2 separate regions of the Homo sapiens genome follow, and region 2 is linked to region 1. The links are contacts of gene promoters, found by promoter capture Hi-C in blood cells and fetal thymus (Javierre and others, 2016). All regions are on one chromosome and are shown on one strand. The core of a region is centred on a gene start or on the middle of the fragment in contact, and the rest is flanking DNA. Distances in the headings are between cores, read along the strand shown.

Region 1 (5,329 bases), core at 363-2,862:
CAATTTTCTGTCTGTGTCCTCAACGTAAAACAAAGATTCAATAGTAGTATACAGATTGCCAGAAACCACAGGCTAAAGAGATGTGGCAATTTCCTGAAAGATTTTATGTTTGGGGGGTGGGGGCGGGAGGGGGGCAGGTAGGGTGGAAAGGAGTTGTGGGAGGGGAGAGAGAGACAGAGAGAGAGAGAGAGAGAGAGGAGGGAGAGAGAGAGAGAGAGAGGAGAGAGAGGAGAGAGAGAGAGAGGGAGGGAGGGAGGGAGAGAGAGAGAGAGAGAAGAGAGAGAGGAGAGAGAGAGAGAGGGGGAGGGAGGGAGGGAGGGAGGGAGGGAGGGGGAGAGAGAGAGAGAGAGAGAGAGAGAGAGAGAGAGAGAGAGAGAGAGTCTGCAAGCCCACCATGATGGTCTCTCAAGCCCGCTCAGACATCTGCCCACCATCCACTGCAAGCCTCTTTCAAATGGTCACTTCCTATTATAAGGTTAAACTATAATCAACAAATCCCTTTCTTTCTCCTAACTCAAAACTGTAGTTTCCCATCTCCTTAAAGAAAAGGCACTATCCACCATTTGCTTTCTATTGTTAAAAGGGGCAATGCGTATCTTCTTTTCTTTATGGCACAATTATTAATATTACTCAGAAAGTCCTACCTTTACAAGTTATAATAAGTATCAACATTTATTTGAAATCATACTGTAAAATTTAAAAGGCATCCATATTTATGTTTTATTCTCACAATGACATCTCCAGGTCTTCAAACGGAAGACTACGACACAAATGGCCTGCCTTCACCGTGCTGCAATTTCTTCAACAGGTAACTTGCTTAGCCTGTGCTACGTATTCATACTGCACGTGGATGTCACTGAATGTCCTTTCTCTTCCAATACATATCTGTATCTAAAAGCACACGGTTTGCTTGCAGATTTTCTTCCTTCCCTTCTCCTCCCTATGGGAAGCTGCCCACTCCACCCCGAAAACACTGTCCCCCAAAGCAAGGGGACGCGCTGCACCCTCGGCTGTCACCGCGAGGGCTCGGCGCGCATGCGCGGCGCGAGCGGCCGGGCCCCACAGCCGCAGGTCGTTGGTAAGGCGGGTCCGCGGACCCCAGGTCGAGCCCAGCGGCAGTGCAGGATCGCAAGCGGCCCGGCACCGGCGCCGCAGGTTGTTGGCAAGCCTGGTCCGGGGTTTTAGGTTGAGCCCAAGCGGCAATGCGGGATCGCCACCGGGCCGCGCGGGCTTGGGAGGGTGACGCCCGCGAGGACACTGCGGCGTCCGGGGCGGGCGGGCACACTCACAATTTCAGCATCCACTCGCCCTCCATCACCAGCGTCCAGTTGGAGGCGGTCATGGGCTGGACCCGGCTCTGCTCCGGCGGCAGCGCGGCCTCCTCGGGGCCTGCCGTCGCCGCCACAGCCGCGATCCAGGCGGCCAGGAGCGCCGTTAGCTGCGGGCCGCAGCGCCCACCCGCCATGTTGGGCGCCGAGCGAGGCTTCTCGGCGGGGAGTGTGGGGAAGGGCAGCGGCCGGCCCGCAGCCTCGCTCGCCCGCCGGGTTTTTCAAGGAAGCGGGAGACGCAAGGGCCACCCCGCCTACGCCTAGCGGCGCAGACTGGCGGTGCTCGCAATGCCGCGGAGGACGCCACCTCTTATCGCCGCTTGCCCGTCGAGGCCACGCCCCCTCCCGCCTCCACTTGCCGTTGCCCGGGGTGTCGGTTACCTCAGCAACCACCGCCCTTTCTTCCTGACCGCCAAGCTGACAATAAACAGATGACCCAACGTTGCCTAAGTTAGAACATGCACCGCTGCTGCCCAGGCTCCAATAAGGGCAGGGTTGGCGCGTGTGGGCTTCTCTAAAGGGAAACATGGCCAGTAATTTTAAAATCCATCCCCTCTTCAATGATAGCAAATATAAAAGCAACGGGCTGCAAGGTACACGTATGTTTAATGAAAAATGGAGGGACGTGGTGAGTATCTCCTGCTGAAGAGAGAGGAAAATTTAAGTACTCTGCATGTGTATATTGAAGCATCACTAATTTAGGATATTGATGAAACTAGCCTATGCAATTGCATTTTTTTTACAAAAAATGTTAATTTCATAGAAACTCTTAAAAACATGGGTACTAGCCGATAAAATGAGTCAATTAAGACTATTGCCACCTGCAGTAAAATGGACCTCACATTTCTCTTGACTACAGTTTTGTCAGATCTAAAATGAGGGTAGCCTTAAGTGATTTCCAAATTTCTTTCCAGGTCACATTAGATGAATCTGTACCTTGGGACCACCACACCGTTAATATATAAGACTGGATTACAATTAAAGGATGAGGAAGCTTTCTCAAAGGGTGCTTTGTATGTGTTTACTAGTTGTGCAAACCATGAACCTCGGTAATGTGGTTAATAGACCATGAAAAGGATGTGGTTTCTGCCCTCGGCTTAAAACAAAGACAGCAATAAGACTAAAAGTACTTCAGGGCACATGAGAGCAAATTTCAATCAATACTTATAGGAGAGGGAAGTTAATTTTGCCTGAAGAGAAGATCTGGCCTGCATTATGCATTAATTAGTATTAGCTAAAAACTATGTGGACCTAGCCCTTATCATTAAAATAAAACACTCAAGGGTTTACAAACTATTGAAATTTAAGAAAATGTCTTTGCAATGAATGCTACTAAGACTCACTGTTATTAAGTACATACATATCAATTCCATAAACTCAATGGAAAACATTTTACTGTGCTTGTAAAAAGAAGTGACTCATAAACAGGAATTCTGTCATTTTATCACTTTCATGATAGAATGATGTGTAGAATTTGTTTTACAATGCTCCAGAAATAAAATGTAGGGAATGGAAAGAAGATAGGTGAAAGAAAAGTGGTGCAACATCAGTCAGTGTTGAAGCTAAGTTCATTTTGCTACTTTACCTACTCATGCATATGTTGGAAAATTTACAAAATGAAAAGCTAAAAGGAGAGAGAGCATCTTCAGCATGAAAGACAGCCATTACCAAAGCATTTCCTATCTTTAACAAAAACTGAAGTCTTAGCCTTCAGACTAAGGATGGTAGGAAGAAAGTAGCAAGGAAGTATGGGACTGACCTTGCCGTAAGGAGTCACAGACCAGGGTAAGGGACCTGTTGCTGTCAGACCATGATTGGCATCTTAGCCCTGACACTTCCTAGCCATGTGATTTGGGGCTAAAACTAGTCCACACCAAAGTTCTCTTAAAATGCGGGTAGTAATAGAACCTGCTCCAAAAGGTGGCTGTGAAGATTATATGAGATAAGAATAATGCCTAGCACATATTCTAACTCAAAAAGCTTACATATTAGGTTGGTGCAAACATAATTGTGGTTTTTGCCACAATATTGCCAACACTAATATTATTATTTGGAGGCAACAATACGCTGTAATGTCTATTTTTCTTATACTAAAGTTAACTTCACTTAGCATGATACACAATGCCTCTCACAGCCCAGCTTCAGTTTTGCCCACTTTACATTCCACTATTCCCAGAGTTCCCTGTGTCCTAGTAACACAAAGCTACTCCCCATTCCCAAAGCACATTGTGTACTTCAGTGTCTCCTTGCTCCTTCATTCTGATTAGAACACTCTTCTCCAGTTGTCCAGTGAATCATTCAGTCTCTGTCATGTAGTCCACACTGTACCTCTGATAGCTCATGCAGAATGAGCTGCTGTCTCTTCTCAGATCCAATTGCTCTTCTGTATAACTGATATGGTTTGGCTCTGTGTCCCCATCCAAATCACATTTTGTAGCTCCCCTAATTCCCACGTGTTGTGGGAGGGACCCCATGGGAGATAATTGAATCATGGGGGCGGGTCTTTCCCATGTTGTTCTCGTGATAGTGAATAAGTCTCATGAGATCTGATGGTTTTAAAAATGGTAATTTCCCTGCACAAGCTGTCTCTCTTTTGGCCTGCTGCCATCCGCGTAAGACATGACTTACTCCTCCGTGCCTTCCACCATGATTGTGAGGCTTCCCCAGCCATGAGGAACTGTGAGTTGAATAAACACTTTTTCCTGTATAAATTACCCCGTCTCGGGTATGTCTTTATCAGCAGCGTGAAAATGGACTAATACAATAACTTCACCACATACCTTTCATAGTATAATGCATTTATATGTAGCTATCACCCTCTACCCTCACTCCTCCAACCACTACTAAAAACTCTTCAAGGTCAAGGGCTTTACCTTATATATCTTTGTGTCCCCTGTATTGCAGAATACCCATCCCATAGATGTACTTGGGATAGACAGCTTCTGGCACTCCTCCCAAGATCTCTCCCTCCTGGTATTCAGGCCCTTGTGTGATCCTTTCCTCTTGAGTGTGGGTTGGGCCTGGTGACCCACTTCTAACAGAAGATGGGAAAACTGATGGATTATCACTTCTTTGTTAAGGTTACAAAAACCTGAGACTTCCATTTTGCTGGAAACTTCTTTTCCTCTTGCACACTCACTCTGCGACTCTGTGTGGAGAGCTCCATGTGACAAGGGAGGTCTGCAGCCTAAGCAACTGAGACCTCAGCCCAACAGCCCTCAAAGAACTGGATCTTCAAACAACCACATGAGTGACCTAGAAGCAAATCTGTCACCAGTGCTCTTGAGACGGGTGAGCCTTATAAATGACCCAGAACCAGGGGGCAAAGCTTAGCTTAGCTGGGACCTCCACCCACGGAAACTGTGAGGTAATCAATGTTGTTACATAATATCAAGCCACTAAGATTTGGGGCAATTTGTTATGCTGTAATGCTATGCTAGGTCAGTGTGTGATCCATGTTTATGTTTAAAACGTGGATTTACAGGTTTAAGAAGATTGGTACCTGGTACTAGGAGAAAAGGCTTTTTCCCCCAGAGTGATGGTGGCACTGCAGGGCAGCTATGATTACACAAAAATATGTGGTTCCTAGTAGGCAAAGGAATTCCTAGGCCTCTGATGAGGTAACATCATTAGCAGGAGAGAGGGGAAGAAGAGTGTGGTAGATCCTATCTAGTCCCCCTCTCTTTCCCTGCCCCACAGAGGAGGATGCTCCTACACCCCTCAGAAGTTAGTCATATTTATATGAATTGGCCAATGGGCTACAAATGGAAGGGGTGGGTATGTATCATTTCCAGGCTGAAGTATTTAATCACCGGCACAAAATGTCCCAGTGTTCTGTTCTCCTGCTGTGGAAATTTTAGAGAAAAGATCATGATCTAAGAGTCTACAAGACCAGAGCAGCCTGAATTGCTGAGCTGCCTGGTGGAGAATAGCAGCATTGGGTGGTTCCCAGGATTCTTAAAAGGACTTTACAAAGGTAAGAAATACGTTTTCACTATGAG
Region 2 (5,131 bases), core at 1,951-4,450, 1.4 Mb after region 1:
TGCCTAAGCCTTACAATTACCCACTTGTTGTTGTTGTTGTTGTTTGGATTTTGTTTTTTTAATCGTCTGCCTCTAGAATATCCCTTCATCAGAATTGTTAGCTCCAGAAGAGGAAGGTGGCTGTTTCTTTCCCTCACCCTCCTCCTGTGCCTGGAGAGATACTTCACAAAATAAAACAGTCTATCTAGAAATTCTGAATCCAGATACTACCAGTTGAAAGATACCACTGTTTTATTATGACTAAGAAAGAAAAAGTAGTTTCCATTCACTGGAAAAAACCGTCAGTTGAAGAACACACTGCAATATCAGAAATATTAAATCAAAAAAAGTACATCTTAGAATCAGTGAAATCATTTTTCATTTACTCCTGTTCTTTCATTCTCCTTTGTACTTTTAAACATGCTTTAAAAAAATCTATCTCATTCTTATGGGTCTACTCATTTCCTTTCTGAATTTCTCAGAAATTATTTTAGTGGGTTTTTTTGTTTTGTTTTTACAGTAACGTTCCCTCATGCCCTGTGGTGTGACCATGTGGATTTATATTGTCCTCATCCTGATGTCTGTGGGTTTCTCCTGATCCTGGCTAGATTTTAGGCAAATTCTTTATCTGGGAATTACTGCAAATAGTGATTGTGTGAATCCAAATCTCACCTCAGCATGTTGCACATTTTCCAGCAGGTACTTCTTTTTTTTCCCCACGAACATCCTGGGTGGATTCTGGCATTCTTGTCACTTTCCTGGACCAATGAACACAGTGTGTGTACTTCCTTTCACAGACTAGACCACGCTCCAGGGACACCAGCTTTATTTGGCACCCACTTCCACTTCTCCTCCTACCTGAGCCTGACAAATGAGCCCTGAGCCTTTGAAACCTATGCTAGGTTTGACAAATAGTTTGCAGGAGTAGCACAATCCTTCTGAGGCCTTTCTTTTTTCTACCACTCCAAGCTATAAGTCATTATGCCCATAAAATTCAAGTGGACATTTTAGTCTCTTTCAAAATTATCCGATGTATTTGTTTTCTTGCATCTTCTTATTTGCTCTTGATGTCATGAAAGATCAAAACACCTTTTTATGAGTTATAGATATTCCTGCAGTGTTTGAGGCTTTCATTTTTAGAATTAGTATACTAGAATAGAAGTAGCCATCCACTTAAAAAAAATTTATTAAGCATCAAGCATTTCAAACCACATTTTAGGAGCAGGAGAAATAATACATAACAAGATGTGCTCCTTGACGTTGAATAGGTAAGAGTTTAGTGAGAGTTTTACTTGAAAAAATACTGCATATATCAATGTCCCCATTTTCTTTTAGCATCCTTTTTCTCTAAAAGTGCTTATGTTCTACCCAAGATTGTGAACAAGGTCTGACTACTTGGCAGTGGTTTGGTGTCATGGATTTTCCATTTGTCTTTCACACAGCTGACCAAGAGGAGGAAGCTCACCCCGAATTCAAATTTGGAAATGAACTTTCTGCTGATGACTTGGGTCACAAGGAAGCTGTTGCAAATAGCGTCAAGAAGGTCAGAGTCCCCTTTCTTTCATCACTCTCAAGAGGTAGCAGCTGTTATTTATGAAATTTTGGAAATGTGAGAACCACAAGAGAATAAAGTAACCTATAATTCCCCTTCTAAATTGCTTAGGATACGAGTCTGTGCTGGGTGACCAGAACTTGACACATACACAATATTAAATTTAAAAGGACATTTAAATTACTCATTAGTCAGGGCCAGTGTTAACCACTACCCATTTGGCCAGTGTCCTCTAAATATTATCATTTATTGTGTTATTGCAGCTGGGGAGGGAGAAAATGACAGCATCCCAGGGGTAAGATTTAATCTTGAATTCATCAGGAAAATGACCCCTGAACATCCCGAGTCTAGCCCTCATTTGAGAACTAGTCCTGCTAATTATATACCTTCCCCCTAAAGTACAGTAAGCATAAAAATGTTTCCAGATATTCAGCCAAGGAAAATAGTTATTCATATACTTACCTTTTGTCAGGCATAGTCTAGGCCATAATGACCTAAAAGTGTAAAACACACTTGCCTTCTGCCCTTAGGCAGCTCATGGCCCCCTGTAGTTTAGGGAAAGGGATCGGAAACAGCAAACAAGCAAGTAGTCAAATAACTATATAATTACAACTTACGGTGAGTGCAATTATGAACATAAACACGCATGCTGAAGAATAATGAAGTAGAAAGAATAAGGAAACCAGAACGCAAAGGGTCAAGAGGAATTGGCCATGCACAGAGGTTGATGAATCACTTTCCATGCGGAGGGACCACAGTAACAACAGCAAGGGCTGTGAGTAGAGTGGCTTGAGTGAGGGTGGAGTGAGACGAGATGAGGCAGGTAGGTGGGAACTGGGTGATGTAGGATTTTGGAGGCCATTATGAGAAATTCAAATATTCAGTGAAATGTGACACTACTGAAAAAGTTTAGAGAAGGGGGCAGTGTAGCCTGATTCAAGTTTTAAAAGATTGCTGTGGTTGCCATATGGAGACTAGTTTAGGAGGAAACAGGAGTGGAAGCAGGAAAAGCAGTGAGGACAGGCTGCTGCTCTAGGCCAGACGAGAGTCCCCGATGGTCAAACCAGACAATGCATCAGAGAGGACTGAGTGGCTTCAAGACATATTGAGAAATGGGACAGCCTACTGATGGATGGAATGTGGGAATGAGAGAGAAAGAAGAAGTGAGATGACCCTCTAGTGTCCTTGTTTGAGGAACTGGGTAGGTGATGGTACCATTTACTGGCATGGGGAAGACCGAAAGAGAAAGAATTCAGGAGTTTCAAATGGGATGACTATTTGAGATGCCTGTGAAGTATTCAAGGGGAGGTGTTCATATAGCATTGCCATCTGACTCTTTCTCTGGGTTCATTTCCTAACTGTCTAACTTTGGGTAAGTTACTTAACCTCTGTGTACCTTAGTTTCCTCATCTGCAAAGTGAAGACGATAACACCTATTTCATGGGGTCACTGTGAAGAGTGGATGGTTTGTGACATGTCAAGAGCTTAGCGTGGTGCCTGGTACATGGTAACTCCTGTAAAGGTATTAGTTGCTGGTATATTATCATCCTTTTCATCTTTATCATTGTCATTATCCTCATGATCACTGGCGTCATTATCACGCGTATATAGAAGACAGGTTGAGCTAGAGATACAAGTTGGGAGTTCAAAAGATCGTATTTGAAACAATGGAAATACTGAGATGATTCACAAGGAAAGGTGGAAAAGAAGGCCCAAGTGGAGCCCTAGTTAAAAGTGGAGCCAGAAAAGAAGAGCAAGGTATGGCTAGAGAAGTAGGAGGGAAATTAGGCAGTGACACCAAGAAAACCAGGAAAGAGAACAGTGTTAACAGAAGGACTGAGTGGTTGACTGTAGAATATGTTAAAAATCTTAGACAAATTAAATTTAACAGAGTTTAGTTGAGCAAAAAAAACAATTCCCAAATTGGGCAGGACCCAAACCAGAAGAGGTTCAGAGAAACTCCAGTGCAGCCATGTGGTGGAAGATTTTTTGGCAGAAAAAGGAAAGTGACCTACAGAAAACAGAAGTGAGGTACAGAAGCAGCTGTATTGGTTACAGGCTTATTTGCCTTATTTGAACAGAGGTTGAATAGTTGGCCACCTTTGATTGGCTGAAACTCAGTGATTGGCACATGAGTAGGTTCCAGTCTGTTTACACACCCATTCAGTCTACAGTTTACTATGTGAAAGTTTATGAAAAAACCTTTAGAATAGGTAAAGAGACACCTTTAGGCTAAACTTAATTTAACAAATGCTACTGACTGATTAAGTAAGAAGACTCAAGAGTGTCCTTTGGGTTGTTAGCATGGAGGTCGTTGGCAACCTTAAAGAGACATTTCAGTGGAGTGCCAGGCAGGGTGGTGACACTGGATCACACAGATATGAATGACTAGAGACTATGCTTTTGAGAAGTTTTGATGTGAAGGGGAGCAAGAAATGGACTGGTGGCCAAGGGCACCTGAGGAGTCAAGGGAGTGTTTTCTTTTTCGGATGAATGAATCTGGAGTGTGTTTGAAAACTTGGAAGTGGTGCAGTAGAGAGGAAGAGATTAGTTTTGCAGGAAAGAGAGGGGATAACTGCCTGGAATTCCTTGAGGAGGTGGAAGAGGGTGGGATTGCTGTGGTGCAAAGGTGTGGCCCTTCACAGGAGCAGGAACACCTGATTAGTGAAGACAGTGGATGAAGATGCAGGTAGGCAGATACATTTGGTGATAGGAAGAGGGGAGAGTATTTGTCTGATGAGCAAAGCCAAAGGAATATTGCCTTTACACACTATCTTTTCTGATATAGGGAATTGTGACTACTCTGAGAATATTGAACATCTATTAAGACTCAAGAGTATTGTTTTAATACAAAAATTAGCCAGGCGCCATGGTACGCGCCTGTAATCCCAGCTACTCAGGAAGCTGAGGCAGGAGAACTGCTTGAACCCAAAAGGCGGAGGTTGCAGTGAGCCAAGATTGTGCCACTGCACTCCAGCCTGGGCAACAGAGCAAGACTGTGTCTCAAAAAAAAAAAAAAAAAAAAAGTTGCTAAAGCCTTCATCAATATTGTCTTAGTGTCTTAGTCAGTTGGTGCTGCTATCACAAAAATACCATTGGCTTAAACAACTGAAAACTATTTGTCACCATTCTAGAGTCTAAGAAGTCTAAGATCAAGGTTCCACGCAATCAGTTCCTAATGTGGGGGGCCTTCTTCGTGTTTATGTCCTCATGTGGTGGACAGAGAATAAGGAGGCAAGCTCTCTCTTGGCTTGGCCCTCATGACCAAATTACCTCCCAAAGGCCCCATCTTCAAATGCCATCACATGAGAATTAAGGTTTCAGTATATGAATTGGGGACAGTATGGGGGGCTGCACCAGCAAACAGTCCATAACAAATACCCAGACATGAATGCTGAGTTACTCAAGAGTGACCATTCATGCTGCTTTTCCTAAGCCCCATGACTAAAGCACTAATTAAATAATTATAATAAAACATCTAAGTAGGTAAAGACTGTCCACGAAGGAGGGAAAGAGCATTAAGATTAGCCCTTCTGGTGCATAAAACAGTGAGGCCATCCATGGCTTTTTGTCATCAGTAATGTCCCACCTTAGCAAATA

Evidence for each region. Contacts are between HindIII fragments. The CHiCAGO score rates a contact against its expected background, and 5 or more counts as called.
Region 2: a fragment that was not itself captured here is called in contact with the fragment with the promoter of TMX4 in region 1 in 1 of 17 cell types (monocytes); the score reaches 5.2 in monocytes.

Annotation. Positions count from the first base shown.
Region 1 is chr20:8,018,149-8,023,477 of GRCh38, forward strand. It overlaps TMX4 (thioredoxin related transmembrane protein 4), which reads right to left and starts at 1,613. Exons shown (of 8, transcript NM_021156.4): 1 at 1,290-1,613. The coding sequence starts at 1,465. It overlaps TMX4-AS1 (TMX4 antisense RNA 1), which reads left to right and starts at 1,758. Exons shown (of 7, transcript NR_184034.1): 1 at 1,758-1,956; 2 at 2,243-3,113; 3 at 3,911-4,007; 4 at 4,233-4,301; 5 at 4,409-4,619; 6 at 5,123-5,304. RefSeq lists silencers at 1,124-1,263, 1,374-1,613. The HindIII fragment of the contact is 3,626 bases long and covers 1-2,320 here.
Region 2 is chr20:9,400,069-9,405,199 of GRCh38, forward strand. PLCB4 (phospholipase C beta 4) reads left to right here. Exons shown (of 40, transcript NM_001377142.1): 20 at 1,422-1,522. Among named protein-coding and RNA genes, the nearest start is that of LAMP5, 110 kb to the right of the region's middle. The HindIII fragment of the contact is 8,869 bases long and covers 1-5,131 here.